Regions from separate parts of the Homo sapiens genome. Here regions 1, 2, 3, 4, 5 and 6 are each linked to region 7. Evidence: promoter capture Hi-C in 16 types of primary human blood cells and fetal thymus (Javierre and others, 2016). All regions are on one chromosome and are shown on one strand. The core of a region is centred on a gene start or on the middle of the fragment in contact, and the rest is flanking DNA. Distances in the headings are between cores, read along the strand shown.

Region 1 (3,873 bases), core at 63-2,562, 390 kb before region 7:
TGCACTCTGTGCAGGACTCTAGGGTCCCCTCTGCCCACCCTGCCCCTGGGAGGAGGTGGTGGAGCCAGGGGCTTCCAGGGAGAGCCAGAGAAGCCTGGGGCCAAGCCGGAGTGCTGCCCTCACAAGCCACGTGACTGTGGCAGGCTCAACTCTGAAGTTCGGTTTCCTCATTTCTAAATGACCAAAGTCATGGGAACATGAGGATCAAATAAAATGTGTATAATGCACCTGGGACAATACGAGGAAGATGTTAGCATGATGATGCGATTACTGTTTTAATCCCTATGCTCTTGTGACATTAGTGCTACACTCTCCTTTCCTAAGACTGGAAGCGGATGTGTCCAGATGGAGGGGCGCAGGCAACCCTGGGCCCTCCACTGTCCGGAGGCTCTGGGCCCTACCTTGGCCAGGCTGATGAGGGTGCCCTCCCGCTGGGTGTCCACCTGCAATGCCCGCTCGGCCTCGCGCTCGGCCCGCTCCTTACTCAGCTTTTGCTGCGCGGAGAACTCCGCCCACTCGGCAGCCAGGCGCCGCCGCTCCTCCCCGCACTTGAGCATGACAGACTTCTGCTCCTCCAGCAAGGCGCTCTGGGATGTGGGGGTGAAGGCACGGGGTGAGTGTCCCTGGGCATAATGGCAGGGGCAGGGGCTGAGTGCGGTGGCTTGACTCACCTTGGCCCGTTCCAGCTCCGCCCTTTCCATGGCCATCTGCTGGGCCGTGACCTTCCTTTGCTCCTCTAGGGCGCGCTGCATGGACTCCGCCTTGGACTGCTCGGCAGTCACCCGCCAGCGTTCCTGTAGGGCCCAGGGCAGGACTGAGAGCGTGGTTCCCGCCCTGAGGATCACGCCTGGCCACTCCCTGAGAAGCTGCATGAACCCACCAGTGTCTCCCACACTATGCCACTGACACGTCCTTCCCAAAGAGGCACAAAATGAGGGGTGCCTGGGAGGCACTGCCAGGGCCCAGCCCGCACGATTCTGCCCAAGAGAAGGACCCAGCAGGTGCCCTCCCAACCCTCAGGTCTCCAACAGCACCAAGGCTAGCAGCTTGGGAGGGCCAAAGAGCAGCAACATCCCTGCCGCTGAATCGCCAGCTACGCACTCTGCCTGTCCTCACCCATCAGCCAAGCAGGCTAAGCACAGGGTGGCTTAATGCTGTGCTGTGGGCCCAGCCACACACAGCACAAGGCGAGAGCTTCACTGTGCCTGACCCCAGGCAGATGCTTAACACAGTTACCAAATGAAGAGGCGAATCAAAATGCTTCACAACATAAAAGCATCTCTATCTACGTTGACATGGCTACAGGATAGATATCAGGTCAGCAGTGGACATCTCTGACTAGTGGGATATTTTTATTTTCTTCTTTAAAAACATTTTTTTGGGCCGGGCACAGTGGCTCAGCCCTATAATCCCAGCACTTTGGGAGGCTGAGACGGGTGGATCACCTGAGGTCAGGAGTTCAAGACCAGCCTGGCCAACGTGGTGAAACCCATCTCTACTAAAAATACAAAAATTAGCTGGGCGTGGTGGCAGTTGCCTGTAATCCCAGTAGCTCAGGAGGCTGAGGCAGGAGAATCCCTTGAACCCAGGAGGCGAAGTTTGCAGTGAGCTGAGATTGCGCCACTACACTACAGCCTGGGTGACAGAGCGAGACTCTGACTCAAAAAAAAAAAAAAAAAAAAAAAAGTTTTTGGCTGGGCATGGTGGCTCACGCCTGTAATCCCTGCACTTTGGGAGGCCAAAGTGGGCAGCTTGTCTGAGCTCAGGAGTTTGAGATCAGCCTGGGCAACATGGCAAACCCCCGTTTCTACAAAAAATACAAAAAATTAGCTGGGTATAGTGGCATGCACCTGTGATCCCAGCTACTTGGCAGCTGAGGTGGGAAGATTGCTTGAGCCCAGGAGGTTCAAGCTGCAGTGGGCTGAGATCTTGCCACTGCACTCCAGCCTGAGTGACAGTGAGACCCCATCTCTAAAAAAAATTTTTTTTTTTGGCCAGGCATGGTGGCTCCCACCTGTACTCTCAAAATGTTGGGAGGCCTAAGTGGGCAGATTGCTTGAGCCCAGGAGTTCAAGACCAGCCTGGGCAACATGGCAAGACCCACATCTCAGTAAAAAATACACAATTAGCTGGGTGTGGTGGTTTGCGCCTGTAGTCCCAGCTACTCAGGAAGCTGAGGCAGGAGGATGGCTTAAGCCAAGGAGGTCAGGCTGCAGTGAGCTATGATCACACCACTGCACTCCAGCCTGGGCAACAGAGCAAGACCCTGTCTCTAAAAAATAACAGTGCTTTGTAAAACCTTAGAAGATGATAACTACTAGCTGAGGACAAAAAGATAGGTGGGAGGACAAGGAAGGCTTTGTGGAGGTGGTAGCATCGAAAGATTCATTACCATTGAATTCAGCCTAGAAAGATTTCCACAGGTAAGGAAAAGGATGTGAGCAAAGGCAGGGACTGCAGGTGTGCACCACCACACCCAGTTAATTAAAACAAAATTTAAATGTTTTTATTATTTATTTTTTTGAGACAGAGTCTCGCTCTGTTAACCAGACTGGTGTGCCATGTTATGATCTCCACTCACTGCAGCCTCTGTGTCCTAGATTCAAGCGATTCTCCCACCTCAGCCTCTCTAGTAGCTGGGATTACAGGCGTGCGCCACCACGCCTGGCTAGTTTCTTATTTCTTTATTTTTAGTTTCACCATGTTGGCCAGGCTGGTCTCGAACTCCTGACCTCAAGTGATCCTCCAGCCTTGGACTCCTGAAGTGCTGGAATTACAGGCATGAGCCAACTTGCCTGGCATAAAAAAATTTATTTATGGTCTCGCTAGGCTGGTCTCAAATTCTGGGCCTTAAGTGATCCTGCTGCCTCAGCCCCCCAAGTAGCTGGGATTATAGGCACAGGCCACTGTGCCTGGCTAAGGTCATCATTATTTAAATAAAGCATGTGCTTATATATGAAAGGTATCTAGGGAATTCAAATGTCTCTGTGAGAGCTGAAGAGGCTAGGATGACATTTAATGGGCAAGAGCATCTGTCCCAATGTCAGGCCTCAGCTAATGTGACAGATTCGAGTGTCAGGAAGTGGGAAGTGCAGCTGATGGTTGCGGGGGCTAGACTGCGGAGGGCAGCCAAGGTGGCCGAGGGGCTTGCGGTGCTGAGGAGCGGACAGGGCGTGGTGGGGGGCCTGGCCAGGCGGCCCCTGCATGCTCAGGTGGGCAGTGCTGAGAGCCTGGCCAGGGCAGGGAGATGTAGAGGCAGGAAGCGGCAGGTGGGGCCTTGACCTCCTGAGGAAGTGAGGTCACGGGAGTGCCGCTACACTTGCGGGTGCCCTGGAGAAGAGGCCCCGTGGCAGGAGGGGCAGGAGGGCCAGGAGGACGGGCCTCACCTGCTCCAGCAGCCGGCTCTGCTCATTCAGCCGTGCCTCCATCTTCCCGATGACCTCCTGTTGCCGGCTCCGCTCCTCCTCCATGTCCCGCTGCTGCTGGCCCAGCCGCTCCTGCAGTGCTGGGGGCAACCCACAGGGTGCTCAGCAGCTGCTCCCCCTTCCCACCAGGAGCCGGGGTGGCTGAGAGGGGAGGGCGTACCCCGCAGCTGCTCGTCACGCTGCCGGATCCCCAGCTCCCGCTCCTGGGAGGTGGTGAGGTGCGAGGCCTCCACGCGGGAGGACAACTCGTGCAGGCTGCTGGAGAACTTCTCCATCTGGTGGATGATGCTATTCAGGGACCTGGAAGAAGACTGGGTCACCCCCTCCTGACGGTCTCGGGGACCTTCCGGCCCCCAACGTCAGGCGGGCATGGTTGGGGCAGCGCACATACCGCGTGTGGGAGGTGGCACTGGTGGCCGCATCGACCTCTCGGTCCTTCAGCAGCTTT
Region 2 (4,028 bases), core at 655-3,154, 410 kb before region 7:
CTGTGACCTCTATATGTCCAAGGCCAAACTCTGCCCTCCACCTACGCCTCTCAGGACATAGCACCCCAGCCACCTGCGTGCTCAAGACAGAAACCCAGGTGTCTCCCTTGCCGCCCTCTCTGCTGTCCCCCGTGTCCCCTCTGGCCTGCTTTCGCCTCCACAAGGTACCACTTCCCCTCAGCGTTTCTCATCTCCTCCTCCATCTTGGTCTCCCTTCCCTGATCCCCAGCTGGTTCTTTGCCTCCCTGCACTCCTACCCGATTCGGGTCTTACATCCTGCCCCCTTCAGCCCCCAGCCAGGTGATCAGTCTCCATGAAGCCCAAATCTGATCATGTGCCAACCTGCTTCCAAGCCTATAATGGCCCCCATGACCCTACAGTAAGAGCCAGACTCCCCCAGGACCCTGCCCGATCCTGCCCCTGCTGACCCCCAGGGCCTGGCCCACAGATCTCAGTGGCACAAATCTGCCACTAGGGACCCCGCGTGCCCAGTTCTTTCCCATCCCAGAGACGGGACCAGGCTGATTCCTCTGCCTAGAATGCTCTTCCCCAGGTCTTTCTCCTGGCTTGCGCTTCCTCAATCCTCACATGCCAGCCTGAAGGCGGCCTCCCCTTCCTCCTCCTGGCCCGTTTAGCAGGGTCACCCCAACCCCTCTATCACATGCCATGTGCTTTCCTCACTGCATTTTGTAATAATACATTCACGCCTTACTGGAACACTGACTTCTTAAGTGGATTCTAAGTCTCTTAAGGGCAGGGAGCTCGTCTGATCCATTTACCAACAGCCCCCATAGCCCCCTCGCCCTCCACAACCCCGCACAGCGAATGAAAGGAGGCTCTCGGAGCGCAGGAGACACACGACGGTTCTCTAGCGCTTGGGCACGGAGCAGGGAGCTGCTGCCTCACGCCCAGGCTTTGTTCATCCAGAGGGCACCGAGCAGCTTCTGAGACCCACCCTGTGTCACTGGCCGGGCTGCATATCCCAGTCTGATGCACAGACCCACGATTTTTTGTTTGTTTATTTTCTGAGACGGAGTCTCGCTCTGTCGCCCAGACTGGAGTGCAGTGGCACGATCTCGGCTTACTGCAAGCTCCACTTCCCGGGTTCACGCCATTCTCCTGCCTCAGCCTCCCGAGTAGATGGGACTACAGGCGCCCGCCACCACGCCCGGCTAACTTTTTGTATTTTTAGTAGAGACCGGGTTTCACCGTGTTAGCCAGGATGGTCTCGATCTCCTGACCTCGTGATCCGCCCGCCTCGGCCTCCCAAAGTGCTGGGATTACAGTCGTGAGCCACTGCGCCTGGCAGACCCACGACTTTTATAATCAGCTCCCAGGTTGGGAGAAGCCCCTTACAGATGAGGCTCCCCGCCCCCGCCGGGTGCCCGAGAGAGCAGGGCGCGGCCCGCAGGAGTCACCCGGCGGTGGCCAGGCTGCGGCGGGTCCGGACCCCTCCCGCTCCCGGCGGATGCGTCACCTCGCGCTTGAGGCGCTCGGCATCCAGCAGCGCCCGCTCGTGGAGGCGACACTCGCGCACGGTGCACACGCTGCACACACAGCGGCCCTCGGTCCGGCAGAAGAGCTCCAGCGGCCGCCCGTGGCGGGGGCAGCGCGCGGCAGGGTCGGGGCCGGGGCCGGGATCGGGGCCGGGATCCCGGGCGGGCCCGGCGCGCACCACCTCCAGCACGCCGCTGAGGGCCACGTTGCGGCGCAGCTCGGCGCCGTCGGGAAAGGGCTCCCGGCACTCGGGGCACGCCTTTCCGCAGCGGTCCCACCAGTCCCGGATGCAGGCCCCGCAGAAGTTGTGGCCGCAGGGCAGCGTCACTGGGTCCTGGTAGAGCCCCAGGCAGATGGCGCAGGTCAGCTTCTCCTCCAGCAGCTGCGCGGCCATGGCCCGGCGGCGGCGAGAGCCAGGCGGGCCCCGGGCGTCTTAAAGGGACCGCGGGCCTCGCGCGCTGAGGGCGCCTGGGCGTGGCTAACGCGGGGCGGGGCGAGATCCGGGCGGGGCGGGGCGAGATCCGCGCCCGGGAAGGCGGAGGGGGGCGGCAGGCCCTTCTCTGACACCCTCGACGAGCGACCGCCGCAGGGGCCTAGGCCACCCCTGCCCACCTCGGCCTGGCCCGCTCGAAGGTTCCGCGTTCCCGCCTTGCGCCCCTCCCTCCGTTAGGGTCCACGCCACCCCGGCTGAGAGCTGAGTTCGGCTCTCTAGGGTCCCAGCCTGGCGGGTCCATCCCACCCCCCTGGGCCTTCAGCCCAGGTCCTGGAGACCAGAGGCTCGAAAACCCCGCCAGGACTCCGGGCTTCTGACCACGGGCCGCGCGGAACCTCTTCTGGACTCATCTGCCAGTCGCCTAACAGCATAGACCCCCACCCCCAACAATCCCCCGGGGCTTGGCGATGAAACGGGCTGGCGGGCTCCCTGCAGACCCGAGCACTGCTGCACTTTTTCCTGGAGCTGGGTTTCGGACACTTGCCAGACTGGGGTGTCTCCCTTCTCTGGGCTACACGTAATTTTGGTTCTTTTAAAGTAAACAGCGAGATGGAAATGTCTGGTCACCAAGAGACAGGGACCAGTTAACTGGTATTTTTCAAATGGCCCTGAATGAATACACAAACCAGCTTTCATCTGCAATCAGCATCCCCTCTTCCTGCTGCCCTCCGCTGGGGAGAGTTCCTTGCCTGGGGTCCAAGCTGATCTGCAGCCTCAGTATTTACAGGCACTCCAGCATTTCCCCTGAAGCTGAGCAGGCAAGGCGGGTCTGGGGCCTAGCGCCCACCTACCTGACAGTGTGTATCAGGCCAGGGGGAACCCCAGGAGAGTACGGCCTTTCTAACCAAGCTGGGCTGATGTTGAGGCGGCACGAGCTCTCACTGCTGCAGCAAGCACTGCGTCCTCTGTGCGGCCATAGACGAAGTTTCTTTCTGGACAAAGTGCACGGATCTACCCTCCACCTACTAGTTAGCCAGACTTCTGCTTTTGGTAAGGGAGAAACAAAACACCTAACCATCCAGCCGCAAGACTCCATGGGTTTTCTGACCCTGAGCAGGTCTCTTGAGACACGCTGTTGCCTACCTAATGTGGCTTCTCCTCCCAAGCATGGGGTGGGGGCTGGAGCCTGTGCAGAGGGTCAGTGCTCGGGCAGGCACTCTCTCTCCAGGGGCCGGTGGGACCCCCCTGAGGCACAGAGCCAGTGCTCAATAAATGCTCCTTCCTGAGCCCAGCTGCTCTGCTCCACTTTTTCGGGGAGCTGGGTTTCAGGAACCTGCTGGATTGGGATGTCTCCCTTCCCTGGGCCACACCTGTTTTTGGCCCACTGCCTGCTTTTGCTTCGGATCCCAGGGCCCCTGACACCCTCAGAAGACGGAGGTGAGGACGCACTTAGTGGGGTGGGAGGCAGCCCGTTTCCCACCCATGAAGCTCCATCGGGGTCCTCTGGCCCTGGAGCACCGACCCAGGCCAGCTATGGCAGAAATCCCTTTTTTTAAAAAATACAGGCAGGGTCTCATTATATTGCCAGCTGGTCTTGAACTCCTGGGCTCAAGCGACCCTCCCTTCTCAGCCTCCCAGTGTTGGAATTACAGGTGTGAGCCACCAAGCCCGGCAAGAAATCATGTTTATTCACATTCCCCACCCCACCACCTGAGAGTCACTTTCACTCCAAGCCCTGGGCCTGACGGGAGGGGGCCAAAGAGGGGGGCTGCCTAAGGCAGGGCCCAGACCCCACAGTGTGGGCCTCTGGAGCTGTGTCTTTACTCTTGCTGCCGATCAATCCCATGCTCTGAAATGCGCACACTCTGGCTCCTTAGTAGATGCCATAGGTGGGCTCATGACTGTCCCTGTACCGGTCCAGGTAGCGCAGGGGCTGCCGGTGGGGGAAGCGCTTCTGCTTGGGGTGGTAAGGGGGCGGCCGCACGAACTCAAACACCGGCTCCCGCATGTCTGCAAGAAGAGTGAGGGGTACGGGGTGGTCTGCTGGCCTGCGCCCCCTCAGGCTGAGGCCTGCCCACCAGGGACCTGCCGCAGCCTT
Region 3 (3,698 bases), core at 1-2,500, 430 kb before region 7:
CAGAGGCGCCAAGACCGGGCTGGAGGCCAAAGGAAACTGGGGGCGGGAGGTAGAGGCCGCGGCTCACATGCTCCCACCACTGGCCCCCGGAACAGCTGGACAGAGAATCTGTGTGCCCGGTCGCCCTCTGCCGCCCTCCTGCCGCCTGCCACACCCATCGAAAGCTGCTGCCTCAGCCCAGGGCAAATCTGAGCTGAGACCGGCGTGACCCTCCGGGCGGGAGCAGCAGCCACGCTACCGGAACCCCGCGGGCCTAACCCGGCTCCCTCCCGCCTACACCCCCATAGACCCCGGCCCGGCTTCAGGTCCCCTGCCCGCTCTTCGCGTCCTTGTCCTGTTCTCACGTCCCTCCTTCCTCCCTTCCCATCTCCATCACCGCCAGCAGATGACCTTGTCAAGGCTGGAAGGGACCGCAAAGATCCTCAGGTTAGAGGAGGAGATTAAGACCCAACCCGGGAAGACTGGGGGGTCCAAGGTCCTCGGCCCGCTCGCGCGCGGTCGGTCACCAGCCCCGGCTCACCCGAGTGTGCCCCCGGAGCCCACCTCCTGAAGCGCGCGCTCCTGCTCCAGCGGCACCAGCTCGTGGCCGCGGTGCTCCTGTGCGGCGCAGGCCTCGCACAGACACACGCGCTCCGCGCGGCAGTAGCGCTCGAGCGGCCGTAGGTGGCGCGGGCACAGGCTCTCCTCTAGCCGGCGCAGCGGCGGCACCAGGCGGTGTCCGCGGAGGGCGGGGCTGCGCTCGTGCGGGCCCAGGTGCGCGGGGCAAAAGGAGGCGAGGCAGGAGAGGCAGGACAGCGCGGCGGGCAGGGCCGCGCCCTCGGGGCACGCGTCGCAGCGCACTGGCTCTTCGCCCGCGGGCCACGGCTCGGGAGCGCAGGGGGCCGACGGCTCCGGGACACTGGGCAGCGCGCTGGGTGCCGAGGGCTCCGGGGCCAGGGCAGGGGCCGGGCCGGGGCCGGACCCGGGGCCCGAGCCCTGGCGGAGCTGCAGCAGCTCGGACAGCGTGTGGTTCTTGCGGAGCTGAAGGCCGTCGGGGAAGGGCTCCTGGCACAGCGGGCAGCGGGCCGCGCCTCCGGGTCCGCCGGCTCCACTCGCGCCACGATGCGGCCAGAGCGCGCCCAGGCAGGCGAGACAGAAGTTGTGGCCGCAGGGCAGCGTCACCGGCTCCCGGAGTGGCTCTAGGCAGATGGGGCAGCTGAAGGGTCCACTGCCGTCCATGACTCCGCGGCCGCCCAGGGCGCCGCCGATTGTGCTCCGGCCTGGGAGGGACCCGGGCCGTTCGCGCCGCGGCACCTCCCCCTGGGACCTAGGCCAGGGCTCCGGCCCCCGCCCGCCCCCAGCTCGGCCCGCCCCGCAGCACCGCCCGCCTGCGGGCCCGCGGACTCCCAGTCCCCGCCCAGACAACGCAGGGAGGCCTCCGAGCCCGCGCGACCCCCAGGGGAGTCCGCGTGGTCCTAAGGAAGGGCGCTGCTGAAAGGGTGTGAAACTGAGTGAGCGCGGGCGGAGAACGCGAGAGGTACAGTGGAAGGAATGGGAAGGACTCAGCCTCCATCCCTCTGGTCCTTCTGGGCCAGGCCAGCGCTCCGCAGGGGCTGGGCGCGTCTAGCTGTGTCATGCCTGCACCTTTGCGCTCGACCCCTCCCTGGCACCCTTAGCAAAGTTCCTGAGCTGCTGACTGCAGAGAAAAATAACTGCTGATGTACATATGTTTTTGCCCCTTAGCGACTCTTTTTTTTTTTTTTTTTGAGACAGAGTTCCTCTCTTGTCGCCCAGGCTGGAGTGCAGGGGCGCTATCTCGGCTCACTGCAACCTCCGCCTCCCGGATTCAAGTGATTCTCCTGCCTTAGCCTCCCAAGTAGCTGGAATTATAGGCGCTTGCCACCACACCAGGCAAATTTTTGTATTTTTTTGTAGAGACGGAGTTTCACCTTGTCCAGGCTGGTCTTGAACTCGTGACCTCAGGTGATCCACCTGCCTCGGCCTCCCAAAGTGCTGGGATTACAGGCGTGAGCCACAGCGCCCAGCTCCTTTAGCGACTCTTTACCCCAAGTAGGGAACTTGGACTTTTCTAGACCTGAAATGGGAAGTTGACGTCATTCCCTAAGTCCCTTGTCTGAGGAATGTAGTTCTGGCCCCTGGACACTGGGGACACCTGTGGTGGGGTTGGGGGTTCCCCAACTGGAAGTATTTAAAGCTCATCTAATTATGCACTTAAAGTGGTGCGTTTTATTGTATGAGTTATATCTCAATAATGTTAAGTTAAAACACTACACCAGAATGACAACAAAATAAGTAAAGTAGCACTGATTATAACCCAAAGTGTAAAATAAACATCTATGAGTCCATGCCGATATAAATAAATAATAAATTAACAAGCTGGGGAGAACAGACATATTTCGCATTGAAAATTCCAAATAATGTTTTTTTATTTTTATTTTTTTAGATGGAGTTTCGCTCTTGTCGCCCAGGCTGGAGTGCAGTGGCGCAATCTCAGCTCACTGCAACCTCTGTCTCCTGGGTTCAAGCGATTCTCCCTCCTCGGACTCTTGAGTAGCTGGGATTACAGGCGCCCGCCACCACATTTGGCTAATTTTTGTATTTTTAGTAGAGACGGGGTTTCACCATGTTGGCCAAGCTGGTCTCGAACTGCTGACTTCAGGTGATCCACCCGCCTCGGCCTCCCAAAGTGCTGGGATTACAGACATGAGCCACCGCACCCAGAGATATCTGTAATTTTGGTTAGTGACAAAGTCACAGGTAACTGCTCATACCACTCTGGTGTATTCTCTCCATTTGGAATAGAAAGAAATGCTGTGTTTCAGTAAGGTGCTGCAGCGTGGCTTCCTTCTGCAGGATCTGAGGGAGACTCTGTCCTGGGCGTCTGTCCCAGCTTCTGGTACTGGCTGGCAATTCTTGGCGTTCCTTGGCTTGTAGCTGTAAGATGCGCTCTAATATCAGTCTCTGTTGTCATTTGCCTTTTCTCTGTGTCTGTGTTCAAATGTCCTTTTTTTTTTTTTTTTTAGGGAGTCTTGCTCTGTTGCCCACTCAAACTGCTGGGCTCGAGTAATCTGCCTGCCTCAGCCTCCCAAAGTGCTAGGATTACAGGCGTGAGCCACTGTGCCCGGTGCCCATTTCCTCTTATCAGGACACCAGTTGTTGGATTAGGGCACGCTCTACTCCAGTATGCCCTCATCTTAACTCAGTCACATCTGAAAATACTCTATTTCCAAATAAGGTCACAGCCACAGGTCCTGGGGGTTAGGATCCGAATACGTCTTTTTCAGGGAACAGGATTCAACCTATAACAGTGCATAAGTAAGGAAATGTTGGAGAGAGGCCCAGGCCCAAATGTGCTAGAGGTCATGCATGTCCCCCGGTGTTCCTGGCCCTCTCTGTGTTCCAGGACCCTGGCCCTTCCCTAAACCTCAGCACACACTGCTGCTTGTCCCACACCCAAACCCTTGTCCACCTCTCCCACCGGGTCTGCATTCCTGCCTCTGTTTCCCCAGCTCTCTAGGCTTGGGGGGTGGGAAAATACCCTCAGGTCCCCTGAGACCAGACTAGAAATGTTCAGAAGGCACTTCATGAGTTCAGAGCTAAAGAGGAGAAAACACAAGCAAAAGAGCACAAATGTGCCGGGTGTGGTGGCTCACGCCTGGAATCCCAGGACTTTGGGAGGCTGAGGCGGGCGGATCACT
Region 4 (4,209 bases), core at 1,143-3,642, 270 kb before region 7:
GAACCTGGGAGGTGGAAGTTGCAGTGAACCGAGATCGCATCACTGCACTCCAGCCTGGGTGACGGAGCGAGACTCCGGCTCAAAAAAAAAAAAAAACCAAAAAAAAATTTTTTTAAAGGCATGCATGCAAAGATAGCATCTCCCCACCTTGAAGGGCCTGGTGAGTCCTTCCTCTCACCTGGCCCTGGCTTGCTCCTTGGTGGATTGAGAGGTTAGAGATGAAACGATCCCTGGGGCTGCTCAACCCTCTGCCAGCCATGACTTTGCGCGGCAGCTTACTCACTCCTTGCGCCTGGAGCGCCACGCTGATGTGGGCAGCTGGCAGCTCACCTGGCCTGGGACCTGAGCAAGAGGCTTGATCAGACCAAGAACAGTGAGACTCTCGGCTCCAAGACTGCCAGACACAGCTGGGCATATGTGCAGCCCGGCCACAGGGTGGCCACTTGGCATGTGTGCCAGCAGTTAAGCCCTCTGGTGCCCACTCTCTCCTCCAGCTCCGGGCTCCTGTGGGGAGGCATTCTTCTCCCTGCTGAGGCAGATGGTGGTAATTGCCTCCTTTGTCCCGGGAGCCGTAAGCTACCAGGCGCCCATGTGTTCCTGATGAGGCGAGGCTTTGCCGTCTCAGGAAATTGCCCTGTTTGTACAAAAGCTCCGCTGCCAGACCCTTGGACCGAAGTTGAGTAATGACCTCTTCCCTTCACTCCCTTCGCCCACTGAGCAAAGCAGAGGCACCCTCCTCCAGCTGGGCCTAGAGGAGCACAGTCTGGCGGACTGGGGGTTCAAGGGACCAGCCTCCTTCCGTTGTCTACAGGTATAGGATTGGCGGGTAGAGGCTGTGGCCCAGGAATCTGCAGGGCCACCAGGAGGAGGCTCTTTTGGCTGTGAGTCTGCCTGGCAAGTCCGATAAAAAGAACTGAAATGCCAAGGTCAGCCTAGAGAGAAGCAAAAGGTGGTACAGCTTGCCTAACCAGACAAGAGTGGGGAGGAACAGGTGCTAGTGATTCCTTTTGGGACTTTTACGGGGAAGGTTTAGAGGAAGCAACTACCAAAACTCCAAAAAACAGAAAACAACCAAATCTTGTGTGTGTTAAGAGAGCAGGCAGGATTCCTCATACTAAATGGCAAGAAAGAGAACATAGAGGGAACCCCTGGAATCCTCAAAACCAAGGCTGCCTTAGGGTATCTGTCCCTCCCTCTGAACCATCCCCTTTCCCTGGGAGAAAGGGGACCCACAGCACCAGCCCCAGTTCAGCTGTAGGACTGATGCTGGTGCAGCCCACTCCCCAGCCCCTGCAGCCATCTCGTGCATGAGCCATCCCTGCATTCCAGAAGTCTGCAGCCCAGCCAGTCTTACTCAGGAACTGGTAGGCCCAAGGGCTCTGGGCCTCTCTGCCACCTTTAAGATAATAGCTGTCCTTACTAGCTAGGTCCGGGGACCTGCAGCCCTATTTTGGAGAAGTGCGGATGTGACGGAGGCAGCCAGCTAACTGTCCATGCCAAGATAATGACCTGCGTTGCCGCTTGAGAAAATGTCCCACCGGCTGCACCACAGCAGCAGGGGTCTGGTGGCATCTGGCACTGTTCACTGTTCAGAGGGAGAAAAAGGTTTATAAAACAGACAAACATGAAAACGAAGGAACAAGAAGTTCTCATAGCTGCCTGATTTGTCTCTATTGTCAGGAAGCTGGAAAGGGGAGGTTAAACCACCCAGCACAGACAGCAGCTAGTCAGACCCAAACTATTGTCTGAATGGCATTGCATAGACTTAGGAGGACTTCCTGGGAAGGGGAAGACAAGGACGCAGGCTGGCTGAGTGGAAGGCTCTCTCAGCTATGTGTACCCATCGACTCAGGGTACAGCAGCCCACACTGTCTTGGGGTCTGGGCTCAGAACATTTTGGGGGAACCTCCTCACTGTCTCCTCCCAGCAACTTTGAGACGCAGCCGCCCCTGTTGTACAGGAGCTGGAGTGTGCTCAGAGGCAATGGACTAGTCAGTGTGGGGCAGGGATCCAGGAGCTCGGAGGACCCTGGGCACCTGCTCTCTCTGCCTCACACCTCTTCTTAGGCAGCATGGGAGGCACTGCCTGGTGAGGCCTTTGCACAGCCACGTCTGTCTCCATTCCACAGATGAGCCGCAGCTAACGTTACTCAGCTTTCACTGGCCCAGGTACCTGCCCGTCATAGCTGGATTGCTAGGTCAGAAGATCCCTGGGGAAGCACTTTGGGGGGCCGAAGCTGCGGATCACCTGAGGTCAGGAGTTCGAGACCAGCCTATCCAACTTGGTGAAACCTCGTCTCTACTAAAAATACAAAAATTAGCTGAGCATGGTGGCACATGCCTGTAATCCCAGCTACTCAGGAGGCTGAGGCAGGAGAATCACTTGAACCCGGGAGGCAGAGGTTGCAGTAAGCTGAGATCGTGCCATTGCACTCCAGTGTGGGCAACAAGAGTGAAACCTCATCTTGGAATAATAATAATAATAATACTTCTACTGGATGCTTGTAGAGCCCCTCACTCTGTGCCAGATGGTGCTCAGAGCAGAGGGTGGACCCAGAGGCCAGGGCCTATCTACTGTGTGCAACCCGCACAGCCTGCCACCCCAGCTGGCCCTGGGCGGTGCCCCCAGCCACAGCCCCTCCCAGGTCCTCCTCCCAAGTGTCTCTAACATCTAACAGAATAACAGGTTGGATTCTTCCAGTTGGTGTTGTCAGGATGCAGGCAATTTCCAATTTATTCTCTTTGCTTTGGAACATCGATAAATTTTACAGCTAAATCTGCTTTCCATCTCCTCTGTAGCAACAACTGTCTTCAAACAAAAAATTAGAACCAACACATATTTTTGCTATCTTTGGATATTTTCCTAGACCTCTAAATGTCCCAGGCTTTTCAAGGCTGCAGACAGAATTGTGCTGTTTAGAATTCTGTGATCAGTTGGCTTTTTTGTGTGTGACTAACGACACCTCGTATGTGAAAAATTAGCGCTGCCACAGCGATGACAGTGAACAGAGCACAGTCCCACCCTCAAAGCCCCTGGCGTTGGCCTTCCTCTCCTAGAGGGGGTGAAGCCTCTGCCTCAGCTTTTGGGAGGAAAGTCCTGGCTCTGGCCCAGAGCCGCTATGGGTTGAGGATGGCCTGTCATCACAGGCTGTCACCTTGTGCTTGTGGTGACAGGCTCAGGTTGCCACCAGGGGAAGGGGTCGGAACCAAGCCCAGCACCGTTTCATTTCAAAGAGGGAATCCAAGAGTTCTCACTGATTTAATGTAAAACCAGAGAGGAGACAGCAAATCCAAACAACATTCGGGAAGAGAGGAACAGGCCAGGAGACCCAGCAGCAAAGGCCAGTGCCATCCTCAGCCACCTCGTGCTCCTGACCCTCACCCAGCAGGCCTGGTGGGGCTTGCCTGGAACAGAGAATAGAAACTATGATCACATAGGCCAGGCGTGGTGGCTGACGCCTGTAATCCCAGCACCTTGGGAGGCTGAGGCGGGTGGATCACGAGGTCAGGCATTTGAGACCAACCTGGCCAATAGAGTAAAACCCCATCTCTACTAAAAATACAAAAAATTAGCTAGGCGTGGTGGCGCATGTCTGTAATCCCAGCTACTCGGAAGGCTGAGGCAGGAGAATCGCTTGAATGGGAGGCGGAGGTTGCAGTCAGCCAAGATCACACCACTGCTCTCCAGCCCGGGCGACAGTGTCAGACTCCATCTCAAAAAAAGAAAAGCCCAGGTGCGGTGGCTCATGCCTGTAATCCCAGCACTTTGGGAGGCTGAGGCGGGTAGATCATGAGGTCAGGAGTTTGAGACCAACCTGGCCAAAATGGTGAAATCCCCATCTCTACTAAAAATACAAAAATTAGCTGGGCGTGGTGGTGGCCACCTGTAATCCCAGCTACTCGGGAGGCTGAGGCAGGAGAATTGCTTGAACCTGGGAGGTGGAGTGAGCCGAGATTACACCACTGCACTCCAGCCTAGGCGACAGAGCGAGACTCCATCTCAAAAAAAAAAAAAAAAAAAAAAAAAAAGGACAGAAACCACGACCACGACCACATCCACAGCAGACCTAGGGCAGGCTTTAAAAGTATGAGACCGGGCCAGGCGTGGTGACTCATGCCTGTAATCCCAGCACTTTGGGAGGTCGAGGCAGGTGGATCACTTGAGGCCAGGAGTTCGAGACCAGCCTGCCCAACACGGTGAAACTCCGCC
Region 5 (4,108 bases), core at 146-2,645, 360 kb before region 7:
CACGCCTGGCCCCAGATTTAGATTTTAAATAAAACGTGAGGTACTGGGTCAAAGGGGGCTCTGCAGGTCGATGATCTCCTCAAACCTGCAAAGACATCCCATCTATGCAACTGGATTGGGGGGTGTCATTCCAAACACCCTCAGATCCTGCCCAGATATTCATCTGTGAACAAGGTATTTCAACACTAATTTTGAAACAATTCTACATCTAGCAGGTCAGTTTATCATTTTCCAGAATCTGAACTACTGTCAGGATAGACTCAAGTGAGATTAACACAGGGTTAATCTTCAATCTTAACACAATTATCAATTAGTTCTCCCAGTGGAACGATTAAGGCTTTTGTCAACATGTAGCATTTCTGCTGTAACCTATAAGTCTCATATTACCAGTTCCCCAGGATAGATAGATATTATGTCAGGTCCCAAGATAGGAGTTATGTTTCCATGGAATTAAGCCATATTCTCAGGACTGATTCTAGAACAGCTGGTTTCATGAGGCATATGGCGTAGATTAAAAAAAAACAAAACAAAGTGACTTACATTGACTTTAAGAAAAAATTAATTAAGATGTATTTAACCTTTAAGTATAGAATGATTGTATAAATTAGATTTCAACTGAAAGGACAATTAGCGATTCAGAGAAAGCTCCTAGAAATAGACTGAAAACAAAGCCATACATAGAGTAAGAAATAGAACCTATGGAACTTCCATTTTTCTAACTATAGTTTTTTGTTTTTGTTTTTTCCCAGTTGTTAAAAAAAAAACAACTCACAGTTTCAATATTTTCTGAACCAAAAATCAGAACACATGGTTTGTGTCAAAGGGTTTTTCTGTGCTACGTCTGGGAGTGCTGACCTAAGTGACATTTTTTTTTAATGCCAAATACAGTAATCTCCAAGCTTTTAATGGCTTATGCCAAGATGACAGAATATGTGAAATCTGATTGTCCCAGAGTTACACTCTGCACTCCAAAGCTACAACAGTGCCACAGCTGAGAGGTTTCCCTATACTTCCTACTACTGTGACAATTTAGCAATCCTTCAAATGGAAAATTCCTAATTACACGAGACAATGGTCCTACAGTAGGCCCGTGCGGAATAAGTTCCCTCGTTGGAAAAATGCTAGCATGAATAGTTTGATAAATGCAATCCATCAGCAAAGGAGAGCAAGCAGGCAGAGACTGTGCCAAGCAGAAACTCATTCGCATCAAGTTTTCCAATAAGTTTCCTTCCCCCAGTCCCTTTTCTTCAATCCTGCTTTTAAGCCAGGCCCCAGGGTAAGTCTGGTAGAACACTGAGCAGGAAAGCTTGGAAGGGTTCTACACCACTTCAAAAATACCTTTGCTTAAAAACACTTATATAGCCAGTGATTAGCAATTAAAATGTGAAAATAATCAACTACTCAGTAGTTAAATTCTGCTAATTATCAAAAGTCATAGTCTACTGGGATCAGCAGCATTACAAAAGGAAGTCATATCGCATTTCTTAAGCTTTTTCTGAATGGTTTAACAGGTCTCTTTCAGTGTTAATTGCACTTAAAACATCTGCTTTTTTTCATTTAATCTCTGAAATCTGTTCATTTTTTCCCTCCATTTATAAAAAGGGGTCAATTTATCATTTGCTCTATAGCTATTTGAATTCGAAAAAGATTCCACAAAATTTGAGTTGCACACAGGCGCTTTCTGAAGCAGATTAAACTTGTCCTTGTGACACTTCAGAGCTTGGACTGCAGTGACTTCAGGTGCTTGTAAGATTCGTGGACCTGTGGGGAAAGGAGAGAGAAGAACTACTAATAAAGAGTTTGCCATGTTAAATAGTATACTGTTTTTTGTTTTTGTTTTTGTTTTTTTTTTGAGACTGAGTCCTGCTCTGTTGCTCAGGCTGGAGTGCAGTGGCACAATCTTGGCTCACTACAGCCTCTGCCTCCCAGACTCCAGCGATCTTCCCACCTTAGCCTCCCGAGTTGCTAGAACTACAGGTGTGTGCCATGACACCTGGCTGCTATTTGTATTTTTTTGTAGAGATGGGGGTTTACCATGTTGGCCAGGCTGGTCTAGAACTCCTCAATTCAAGTGATCCACCCACCTCAGCCTCCCAAAGTGCTAGGATTACAGGCGTGAGCCACTGTGCCCAGCCTGTGGTTGTTTCTGAAGAGTCCTTATCTTTTAGAGCTATGCATTGAATTATTTATGGATAAAATTATCTGATGTCTTAGTTTTTTTTTTTTTTTTGAAACGGAGCCTCGCTCTTGTTGCCCAGGCTGGAGTGCAATGGCATGGTCTCGGCTCACCGCAACCTCCGCCTCCCAGGCTCAAGCAATTCTCCTGTCTCAGCCTCCCAAGTAGCTGGGATTACAGGCATGCGCCACCACGCCTGGCTAATTTTGTATTTTTAGTAGAAACAAGGTTTCTCCATGTTGGTCAGGCTGGTCTCAAACTCCCGACCTCAGGTGATCCACCTGCCTCGGCCTCCCAGGTGTGCATCACTGAGCCTGGCCCTGATGTCTTAGATTTATTTCAAAATAGTCCCCAGGAGGAGGGGGATGAAGGTTCAGATGAAACACAACTAGCCACGAGTTGATAGTCATTGCTGCTAGACAAAGGGTGTACCAAAGAGCACTACGGAATTCTCTTTTTGTATATTTTATTCTATTTGTGTGTGTGTGTGTGTGTGTATACTTTTTTTTTTTTTTTGAGACAGAGTTTTGCTCTTGTCACCCAGGCTGGAGTGCAATGGCACGAACGTGGCTCACTGCAACCTCCGCCTCCTGGGTTCTCCTGGGTTCAAGCTGAGGCAGGAGAATTCCCGAGTAGCTGGGACTACAGCCGTGCACCATTACTGCCTGGCTGCTTTTTTTGTATTTTTAGTAGAGATTGGGTTTCGCCATTTTAGCCAGGCTAGTCTCGAACTCCTGACCTCAGGTGATCTGCCCACTCGGCCTCCCACAGTGCTGGGATTACAGGTGTGAGCCAACGCACCCGGCCTGTATATATTTTTAAATGTTCAATTCGTTATCAAAAATTGAAATTGATTAAGACCCTGGTTACTGTGGGAACAACCCAGTTCCCTTCTGAACCTGTTGCTCAAATAAAGTGACTGTCAGAAGTGGCCATGGTACTTTCAGAGCTTTCACAGATAAATCCCCTTCGAGAGGCCTTTCCTGCTTCAATATTTAAGTGAAGACTTTTAAAAAGGTGCAGAGACACTGGATTTTTACCTCTGCTTTGTTCAGTGGGGAGTTCTTAGCCCACTCAAACAAGTTTTCATACACATTCCCATCATAGCGGCCAAGCACAGAGCCAAGTGTCACATCCTGAAAATCAAATGCATCAACCAAAGCAACAGCATCTGAGCGAATCAGAGTGAGTAACTCCTTTACACGCTGGTTTACTTGTGTAATCTGAGGCTCTGTCATGATGCTCCCCTAAAAGAGACCAAAATAAGTAAATAAAACATATATATGTATATAGATAGACATAATTATATGCATATACAGCTATAAAGCGGATGACAATTATTTTTTTCTTTTTTTTTTTTTGAGACTGAGTTTCACTCTTGTTGCCCAGGCTGGAGTACAATGGTGTGATCTTGGCTCACCGCAATCTCCGCCTCCCAGGTTCAAGCAATTCTCCTCCCTTGGCCTCCCAAATAGCTGGAATTACAGGCATGCGCCAGCACACCTGGCTAATTTTGTATTTTTAGTAGAGATGGGGTTTCTCCATGTTGGTCAGGCTGGTCTCGAACTCCCGACCTCAGGTGATCTGCCCGCCTTGGCCAAAGTGTTGGGATTACAGGCATGAGCCACTGTGCCTGGCTATTTTTCTTTTTCTTTTTTTTTTTTTTTGAGACAGAGTATTGCTCTGTCACCCAGGCTGGAATGCAGTGGTTTCATCTTGGCTCACTGCAACCTCTGCCTCCAGGGTTCAAATGATTCTCGTGCCTCAGCCTCCCTAGTAGCTGGGATTACAGGCATGTGCCACTGCACCTGGCTAATTTTTGTATTTTTAGTAGAGACAGGGTTTCACCAGGCCAGGCTGGTCTTGAACTCCTGACCTCAAGTGATCACCGTACCCGCCTTGGGCTCCCAAAGTGCTGGGATTACAGGCATG
Region 6 (4,195 bases), core at 1,480-3,979, 340 kb after region 7:
AGGCATTGTGAAGACCTTGTCTCTGCAGCTGTGTAGCTGCAAGGTCACTAGGCAGATAAACTCAAGTCGTAAAACATATTTTTCCTTGAAAAGTAAGAAATGATGTAATGCATGTCTCAATTGAGTAACTGTCTTTGTTTCTTGCTTCTGTAATATGCTTCCCCCTGCACAGATCTCCCCCTGCCCCACGAAATGCTTAAAAGGTAACCTGACGCTTTGTTCGGGGCTCAGTTTTTTTGGATGTTAATGTGACTGGGCCAGTGCACCTTAATAATGATAATAAATCCTCCTCAACCCTTCAGTCTCTCTGATTCCTAAATTATCCCACTGCATTTAGAAGTATTGTAACATATATGATAAAAAGGTTAATATCCCTAATATACAAAAAGCTCCTACAAATATGAAAAAAATAATAAAAAGGAAGAAAAGATATGAACAGGTCATTCATAGAAAAGTACAAATGACTAAGAAAGTTAAGATTCTCAATACATCAGTGATCTGAGAAATGCAAATTAAAAAGAGAAACACTTTCACCTATCTGATGATTAAGACTTCAAAACCCTAATGAAAGCCAGTGTGGTCCTGGGAGGTAAAGTAAACTTGCACCTGTCAGTGTAGCATTCTGAGACAACAATTCAATGGTGTCCACTGACATTTCATGTAAACATATGCATTGTCTTGGCAATTCCACTTCAAGAAATCTACCCGGAAATCACTTACGCAAGTGCTCAAAGGTATGTGAGAAACTTGATAGGGGTTGGTTAAGTAAACAGTACCTACCCTGTGGAATGCTAAGCAACTGTTGAAAGAAGGGAGTGGACCTGTATGTCCCGACATGGAAAGATGTCCATGATATAGTGTGACTTACAAGGTCAACCTGTGGAACAATATGTAGCATGAGATACATATATATGTATATATACGTATATATGAGATATATATATAAGCTCTCTTGTGCATATATATGTAAATCTATATGATATATATGTGTATATATCTATATCTATATATACAATATATCTATATATACATATCTCTCATGCTACATATTGACATATAGTATATCAATATATAGCGTATATATTGTATATATATCTCCATACTATATATAGATATCTATATCTCCATCTATCTATCCATCTATCTGTCCATCTATCTGCCTATCTCTCTATCTCTCTCTCTCTCTATCTGCCTATCTATCTATCTATCTATCTATCATCTATCTATCGGGCTTGTATAGCATAAAGGTAATGAGCACAGGGTATGGCACCAAAATGCCTGGGTTTGAATCTTGGCCCTGCCGCATACTAGCAGGGTGACCTTGGGAGAATCACTTCAGTTCTGTGTATCTCAGTGTCCTAATAATGAGAATTAGTGAGTTAACGTATATCAAGCACTTAGAATAGGGGCTAGCTCATAGTAAATACTATAGCAGTGTTAGCTACATAATAATAGAATTCCGTGTACCCTCAAGTGTCAAGAGTGGTCACCTTGAAGAGTGGATAGAGGTGGAGGTATAATAGGGAGACCCTCACTTCCTGCTTCACCTTTCTGTATTTTTTTTAACTCTATGAGAACCTGCATTACTTTCAACGTTTAGGAACAGTGAAATGAAATTATTGGCTGGGCGCAGTGGCTCACGCCTGTCATCCCAGCGCTTTGGGAGGCCGAGGTGGGTAGATCACTTGAGGTCGGGAGTTCAAGACCAGCCTGGCCAACATGGTGAAAACCTGTCTCTACTAAAAATACAAAAACTTAGCCAGGCCTGGTGGCATGCGCCTGTAGTCCCAGCTACTCAGGAAGCTGAGGCTTGAACCTGGGAGGTGGAGGTTGCAGTGAGCTGAGATCATGCCACTGCACTCCAGCACTCCGGCAGCAGAGTGAGACTCCGTCTCAAAAAAAAAAAAAAAAAAAAGAGGGCCTCTCACTGCTGGAGATGTGTGTATTTTCTAAGAAAAATGGTCTAGAAGGTATTTTTGAAGGATTAACTTGGCGTCCACAATTGAAACTGCATCCCTAAGAGGGAGGCTCTCCATTTTAACTGACAAACTTAGGGTGAGTCCGGGTCTGAAACAAGTGGAACACACAGCATGGCTCTTTCGCTTCAGGACGTAGAGAATGGCATGTAAGAACTAACCCAGTGCTGCTGCCATTACTCACAGTCCCAGAGGGGAAAGCAGTCATGTCTTCTGTCTGCACTCTGCAGACCTAACCCATCAGTTCTCAAACTCCTGTACGTGTCCCACAGTATCTGGACATGTCCATCCCATGCGTCTTGGTTGCCCACTGCCACCCTTTCTGTTCCCTGCAAGTCTTCCCATTAGTCTTTCTTCCCAGTGCTTCTTGAGAACACTCCTGACCCCTGACACTCCCATGTGGACACACAGGTGGCTCAGACTTCCCCAGTCCTCCCTGGGCTATCATTTTTCTGTTTCCTCAAATGAATGAAATATGAGGAGTGGAAAGGACAAGAATCTTACCTGGAAGGCTTTGTTTGAGGCTCCTTAATAAAAGAGGGCAAGGCGAAGAGAAAGAAGACCAGGACAGCCAGAAGCAAGGACCACTGGACGCCTTGGCTCAGGTGCCTGCATCTCCACAGGCAGGACCTCATGGTGGTGGGTCGGGTTCTAGAGGAAGGTTCTGCATGTCCTGGGGCCTTGATGTAGGCAGCTGGGAGTCTCACCGCTCAGGTTTCCTGGCCAGGAAGTGCACACCCTTTGTCTTAACAATGAGCCACTCCGGCAAGTGCTGAGTTTATCAGTCTCTGCCTGGGAAGGGAGGAACCGCCTTCACTGCTGTATGAAGGCTTATAAGCTGGCGTGGCTTAAAGGAAGGGAAACTCCTTGTGTTCAAACATGTTTACCTTCCTTTTTTGTCTTTGAAGCCAATATCTGAAAGTCAAGCTTTATGAGAAATATAACCACATTATATGCAGTCTCATCTTGGTCAGGTTACTTAACCCATCTGCCGCCATATAAATGGAAAAAAGCAGTTATCTTCCTTTTGGGATTATCATGAAGACACCTTGAGGCCACCATGCACAGGGCTTTGTTTGTGGTAGGCACCCAACACACATGTTCAACACTTTAGCTCAACCTTCTCTGTTTCTCTTCTGAAATCATGACCATTACAACAATGACCAGCACGTATGAGGGCTCACTCTGAGCTGGGCAGTGGGGAGTCTTCACAGGCACTCATGGAACCCTCACAGCCACTCTAGGGGCTGGGTACTGTCATCACCTCCATTTGACAGAGGAGGAAATGGCCTCCAAGAACAAGCTGCCAGCCCAAGAGCACATGGTGAGCCACTGGCTTGGGGTCCAGATCCAACTGACCTAGAGATTGCATTCTTTTTTTAAGAAATAGAGATGGGTCTCAGTATGTTGCCCAGGCTGGTCTCAAACTCCTGGACTTAAGTGATCCTCCCACCTCAGCCTCCCAAAGTGCTGGGATTACAGGCATCGGCCACCATGCCCAGCCATGATTGCATTTTTCTTTCTTTTTTTTTTTTGAGACATTCTCACTCGTTGCCAGCCTGGAGTGCAGTGGCGCAATCTTGGCTCACTGCAACCTCCGCCTCCCGGGCTCAAGTGATTCTCCTGCCTCAGCCTCCTGAGTAGCTGGGACTACAGGCACCCAACACCACACCCGGCTAATTTTTGTATTTTTAGTGGAGACGGGGTTTCACCATGCTGGCCAGGATGGTCTCGATCTTCTGACCTCATGATCCACCTGCCTCGGCCTCCCAAAGTGCTAGGATTACAGGTGTGAGCCACCGTGCCTGGCCGATTGCATTCGTATCCACTGCTTAGTAGCACCTACGAGAAATCATTAACTCTACCTTGATCAAAGCAATGCAAAACAAAACCCACATAATTCTTGGGAAAAAAAAGTACACCTCAGAGGAAAAACATCAAGACCATTTGTAGAAAACTTTAAAAATTCAGAGAAGCAGCCCTCCATAAAGTACTGTGAGTTAGTAATTTTATAAAAATATTGTCCAGGGTGTTGAACTGTGGGAGAGGTTTTGGAGCCTGGGCTCACTGTTCACACCTGGCGGTGGGCATTTCTCCTAACGTACAGTTTTCAGTTCTGTACACAAGGCTCTTGGCCTTCACCCATGGCACGCACCGATAAATGATTAAACCACCTTCCTCAAGGAGGACGAAAAAGGCAGGAACATACGTCTGAGCAG
Region 7 (3,816 bases), core at 531-3,030:
ATTACCTCCTGGCGCTGACCTGCGTTGCTTCCTGCTGTTCACTGGACAATACTTATACTCAATGATTACATGCATTTGTCCCTCCAAGAAAACAAAAGTCCAGTTGAAGGCAGGGCTCAGTGGCTCACGCCTGTAATGCCCAGCACTTTGGGAGGCCGAGGCGGGCAGATCACTTGAGGTCAGGAGTTTGAGACCAGCCCCGCCAACATGGTGAAACTCCTTCTCTACTAAAAACACAAATATTAGCCAGGCGGGGTGGCGCGCGCCTATAATCCCAGCTACTCGGGAGGCTGAGGCAGGAGAATCGCTTGAGTCTGGGAGGCGGAAGTTGCAGTGAGCCGAGACTGCACCACTGCATTTCAGCCTGGGTGATAGAGTGAGACTCCTTCTCAAAAAAAAAAAAAGTCCAAGTGAAACGGTCCCCTGCCTGCTGTGGCTTGTGTCATGGCCATAGGAAGCTGAGGTCCAACTCTCCATCCTGACTCCCCTTCTCTGGGAGCCTTTGTCCTCAACACGTATCTCTTCATGTCCTTATTCATTTTAAAAAGGGAATTCACTCTAAGAATCTTCTGAGAAGTTGCCGGCCCCACTCTGAGCCAGCTCTGGGTCCTTGGATGTCTGATAAGTGGTGGGCGAACCTCTCCCGTAAACAGGGGCTAGGAAGGAGGGGGTGGGATGGGGCCACTACACTTAGGAGGTGGGGTCCCCAGGCCCCTCCAGCTCGGGGAGGCCCTAGGCCTTTTGGTGGCGTTCTTTTAGGATTTTCACGTCTTGCAGCCCCGTGGACTGCAAGGTAGAGCATGGGCCACTCTATTTAGCCAGTCGCACTGAGGTCTGGCACCTCCTCGGTCCCCATCCCCTCCGTCCCCACCACCGCTCACCCCTCCAGGGTGGTGGGGACTCGGCTAGGCCTGGAGGGCGGCCTGGAGGAGGCAGACGGCCTGCGCGTGCCTCCGTGTGCGTGCTCACCCTGGCAAAGCTGAGCTCCTCGGCGGCGTCCTTCATGATACTCCCAGTCCGCACCCTATCGAACGCCCGCACGCCCACCTCCTGCTCCTCCGGCCACTCTAGCGCGGCCAGGTCAAGCCCGCTGGCCTGGGAGAAGTGCTGCACGTGCGTGGCGATGCCCTGCACCTGGCCGTCCACACGCTTGAGCTGCTTGCTCAGGTCCTCCACCTGGCCGCCCAGGTCCTTCACTTGGCTCTCCAGCGCTGACGAAGGCGCCTGGCCCACGCCCCTGCGCTTCTCCCGGGGCGCCCCCTTGGGCACCTCCTTGGGCGCGGGCAGGTGCGGGATGCTGAACGAGCTCCGGACGGACTGCAGCGAGCGGCTGGGCTCGGGCGACGAGGGCTGGAAGTCGATCCGGGTATTTTGGAGGTCGAGGTTCTTGAGCATGGCCACGATGAGCGTGTGCAGGGCCGTGAAGTTGACGGCGCCCACCTCTGGCGTGCCGATGGAGAGGTCCGCCAGCTCCCGGAGGGAGACCGTGGTCGCGGGCGGCATCGTGGCTGTCAGGAGCTGTGCGCCGCCGCGGGGCGCCGGCCAACCACTTCCCGCTCACTGCACGCCGCGCCTTGGGGCCTTTCGGGGGCCCTGCGAGGTCCTCGGGGCGCCCCTGCCCCGGGTCCGGCCGAGTCACTGGACAGAGCTCCTGCCTCCAGGGAATCTGCGCCTCCGCTCCCCGGCGGGGTCCGCGATGGCCACCCCTCCGCTGTCTGTCGCTGGCCTCGGGTCCCCGAGCTGGAGCCCTGGACTCCCAGTCCCCGCGCCGGCGGACGTTTGAAACGTGGGGGCCCCCGCGTGCCCTGAAGATTCCACGTAACAACACGCCTCCCTGCGAGCCACGGGGGCGGGGGGAAGTAAAGGCCACCACAAGGATCACAAGGGGAGCCTTGGCAACGGGCTGAGGAGGCCTCCTAAGATCCAGCTAGACTCCATCCATCCCCTTAACCTAGAAAGGCCAGGATTCACTCACTCTTGGCGGGGCCACATAAGGAAAGACTTGAGGGTTTCCTGGCAACCATGCTTTGTGTCATCAGCTGCGTCCATTCCAGAGTGGTGGCCCCATGTCTATGGCCCCATGTCTAAGGGATGCAGTCCTGGGGCCCTGGTCCCCTCAGACAGTCCACATATTTTGTTCAATCAAAGGTGAAGCAACTTGGAAAAGACAACCCACTCACTATTCAGGCAGTTCCAATTAGCCACTAGATGACTAACTGGTGGCTAATTGTCCCTTTTCTGTGCTGCCATAATTTTTTTTTTACTTTTGAGAGGGAGTCTTGCTCTGTCGCCCAGGCTGTAGTGCAATGGCACGATCTCGGCTCACTGCAACCTCTGCCTCCCGGGTTGACATGATTCTCCTGCCTCAGCCTCCCGAGTAGCTGGGATTACAGATGCGTGGTACCATGCCCGGCTAATTTTTTGTATTTTTAGCAGAGACGGGGTTTCACTATGTTGGCCAGGCTGGTCTTGAACTCCCGACCTCAAGTGATCGACCCACCTCGGCCTCCCAAAGTGCTGGGATTACAGGTGTAAGCCACCGCGCCCAGCCTGCCATAAATTAATTGATCTCAAAAAAACGGCCAGGCTTGGTGGCTCACACCTGTAATCCCAGCACTTTGGGAGGCCGAGGCGGGTGGATCACCTGAGGTAAGGGGTTCAAGGCCAGCCTAGCCAACATAGTGAAACCCCTCTGCTAAAAATACAAAAAATTAGCCGGGCATGGTACCGCGCATCTGTAATCCCAGCTACTCGGGAGGCTGAGGCAGGAGAATCGCGTCAACCCGGGAGGCAGAGGTTGCAGTGAGCCAAGATCGCACCACTGCACCCCAGCCTGGGCGACAGTGCAAGACTCTGTCTCAAAAAAAAAAAAAAAGAAAAGAAAAGAAACCACTCACCTGGTCAAGCGCCTGTGCTTGAGCTCATTACAAAGCAGGATTAAACAGCACGAGACAAATCTGGTGTTAACAATTGAGACATGACTTCCCCATACAAGATTCTTCCCAAAAACGTATAAATAAAACTTCCTAACAGAAGCACAGCAAGGCTACTTAAAGAGAACCTATGAATGTGTGCCATGCATGGCCAGCCTCCTCCGTGAGCTCTGCATCTGCAGATTTAACCAACCACGACTGAACACGTACAGATTCCTGTCATGATTCTCTAAATAATACAGCATGACCACCATCTACACAGGATATTGCAGTAGGTATTACAAGTCATCCAGGATGTGCATAGCTTATATGCAGATACTACACCATTTTCTATCAGGGACTTGCACATCCATGGGCAGGAGGTTGAGTCCTGGAACCAATCACCCATGGATTGTAAGGAATAACTGTACTATTTTAACTACTGTTCAAGTTCAGATTTTTCACTTCAGCCTGAGAGGTACTGTTTATTTAATTGAAGGATTTTCGATCATCATTATATTCCAATAACTTGGGACACAGTAGGCCTTTAAGGGGTTATCAAAATAACTAGTTCTTTGCAGTCTTTTTTTTTTTTTGAGATGGAATCTTGCTCTGTCACTTGGGCTGGAGTGCAGTGGCACAATCTCAGCTCACTGCAATCTCTGCCTCTTGGGTTCAACCAATTAATTCTCCTGCCTCAGCCTCCCGAGTAGCTGGGATTACAGGCGTGCACCCCCTCCCCCAACACCCGGCTAATTTTTGTATTTTTAGTAGGGACAGGGTTTCACCATATTGGCCAGGCTGGTCTCAAACTCCTGACCTCAAGTGATCTGCCCACCTCGGCCTCCCAAAGTGCTGGGATTACAGGCGTGAGCCATGATGCCTGGCCTCTTTGTAGTCTTTT

What was found. The method cuts DNA at HindIII sites, captures the fragments that hold promoters and counts their contacts. A CHiCAGO score of 5 or more calls a contact.
Region 1: a contact is called between a fragment that was not itself captured here and the fragment with the promoter of QRICH2 in region 7, in 5 of 17 cell types (M1 macrophages, activated CD4 T cells, non-activated CD4 T cells and 2 more). The highest score is 6.8, in M1 macrophages.
Region 2: the fragment with the promoter of TRIM65 here is called in contact with the fragment with the promoter of QRICH2 in region 7 in 1 of 17 cell types (naive CD8 T cells); the score reaches 5.1 in naive CD8 T cells.
Region 3: the fragment with the promoter of TRIM47 here is called in contact with the fragment with the promoter of QRICH2 in region 7 in 9 of 17 cell types (non-activated CD4 T cells, activated CD4 T cells, total CD4 T cells and 6 more); the score reaches 9.9 in non-activated CD4 T cells.
Region 4: a fragment that was not itself captured here is called in contact with the fragment with the promoter of QRICH2 in region 7 in 9 of 17 cell types (activated CD4 T cells, M2 macrophages, naive CD4 T cells and 6 more); the score reaches 10.8 in activated CD4 T cells.
Region 5: a fragment that was not itself captured here is called in contact with the fragment with the promoter of QRICH2 in region 7 in 4 of 17 cell types (M1 macrophages, M0 macrophages, non-activated CD4 T cells and 1 more); the score reaches 7.0 in M1 macrophages.
Region 6: a contact is called between the fragment with the promoter of ST6GALNAC1 here and the fragment with the promoter of QRICH2 in region 7, in 4 of 17 cell types (naive B cells, total B cells, megakaryocytes and 1 more). The highest score is 8.4, in naive B cells.

The regions. Positions count from the first base shown.
Region 1 is chr17:75,914,346-75,918,218 of GRCh38, forward strand. FBF1 (Fas binding factor 1) reads right to left here. Exons shown (of 30, transcript NM_001319193.2): 21 at 3,817-3,873; 22 at 3,586-3,725; 23 at 3,387-3,505; 24 at 672-794; 25 at 402-587. Among named protein-coding and RNA genes, the nearest start is that of MRPL38, 11 kb to the left of the region's middle. RefSeq lists an enhancer at 583-877. The HindIII fragment of the contact is 9,083 bases long and covers 1-3,873 here.
Region 2 is chr17:75,895,047-75,899,074 of GRCh38, forward strand. TRIM65 (tripartite motif containing 65) reads right to left here and starts at 1,905. Exons shown (of 6, transcript NM_173547.4): 1 at 1,478-1,905. The coding sequence starts at 1,891. MRPL38 (mitochondrial ribosomal protein L38) reads right to left here. Exons shown (of 9, transcript NM_032478.4): 9 at 3,598-3,940. The coding sequence ends at 3,804. RefSeq lists silencers at 1,175-1,744, 1,775-2,254 and enhancers at 1,622-2,331, 2,332-3,039. The HindIII fragment of the contact is 5,525 bases long and covers 1-4,028 here.
Region 3 is chr17:75,877,331-75,881,028 of GRCh38, forward strand. It overlaps TRIM47 (tripartite motif containing 47), which reads right to left and starts at 1,251. Exons shown (of 6, transcript NM_033452.3): 1 at 544-1,251. The coding sequence starts at 1,218. It also overlaps a transcript of TRIM65 not described here. RefSeq lists enhancers at 1-625, 626-1,541 and silencers at 386-565, 576-955, 1,086-1,435. The HindIII fragment of the contact is 18,500 bases long and covers 1-3,698 here.
Region 4 is chr17:76,032,015-76,036,223 of GRCh38, forward strand. No RefSeq gene overlaps it. Among named protein-coding and RNA genes, the nearest start is that of EVPL, 6.8 kb to the left of the region's middle. RefSeq lists an enhancer at 1,981-2,588. The HindIII fragment of the contact is 7,176 bases long and covers 1-4,209 here.
Region 5 is chr17:75,945,035-75,949,142 of GRCh38, forward strand. It overlaps ACOX1 (acyl-CoA oxidase 1), which reads right to left. Exons shown (of 14, transcript NM_004035.7): 13 at 3,217-3,423; 14 at 1-1,761. The coding sequence ends at 1,714. Among named protein-coding and RNA genes, the nearest start is that of FBF1, 6.0 kb to the left of the region's middle. The HindIII fragment of the contact is 183 bases long and covers 1,305-1,487 here.
Region 6 is chr17:76,641,028-76,645,222 of GRCh38, forward strand. ST6GALNAC1 (ST6 N-acetylgalactosaminide alpha-2,6-sialyltransferase 1) reads right to left here and starts at 2,730. Exons shown (of 9, transcript NM_018414.5): 1 at 2,481-2,730. The coding sequence starts at 2,611. The HindIII fragment of the contact is 3,284 bases long and covers 1-2,901 here.
Region 7 is chr17:76,306,496-76,310,311 of GRCh38, forward strand. QRICH2 (glutamine rich 2) reads right to left here and starts at 1,781. Exons shown (of 19, transcript NM_001388453.1): 1 at 970-1,781. The coding sequence starts at 1,503. PRPSAP1 (phosphoribosyl pyrophosphate synthetase associated protein 1) reads right to left here. Exons shown (of 10, transcript NM_002766.3): 10 at 2,983-3,816. The HindIII fragment of the contact is 8,448 bases long and covers 1-3,816 here.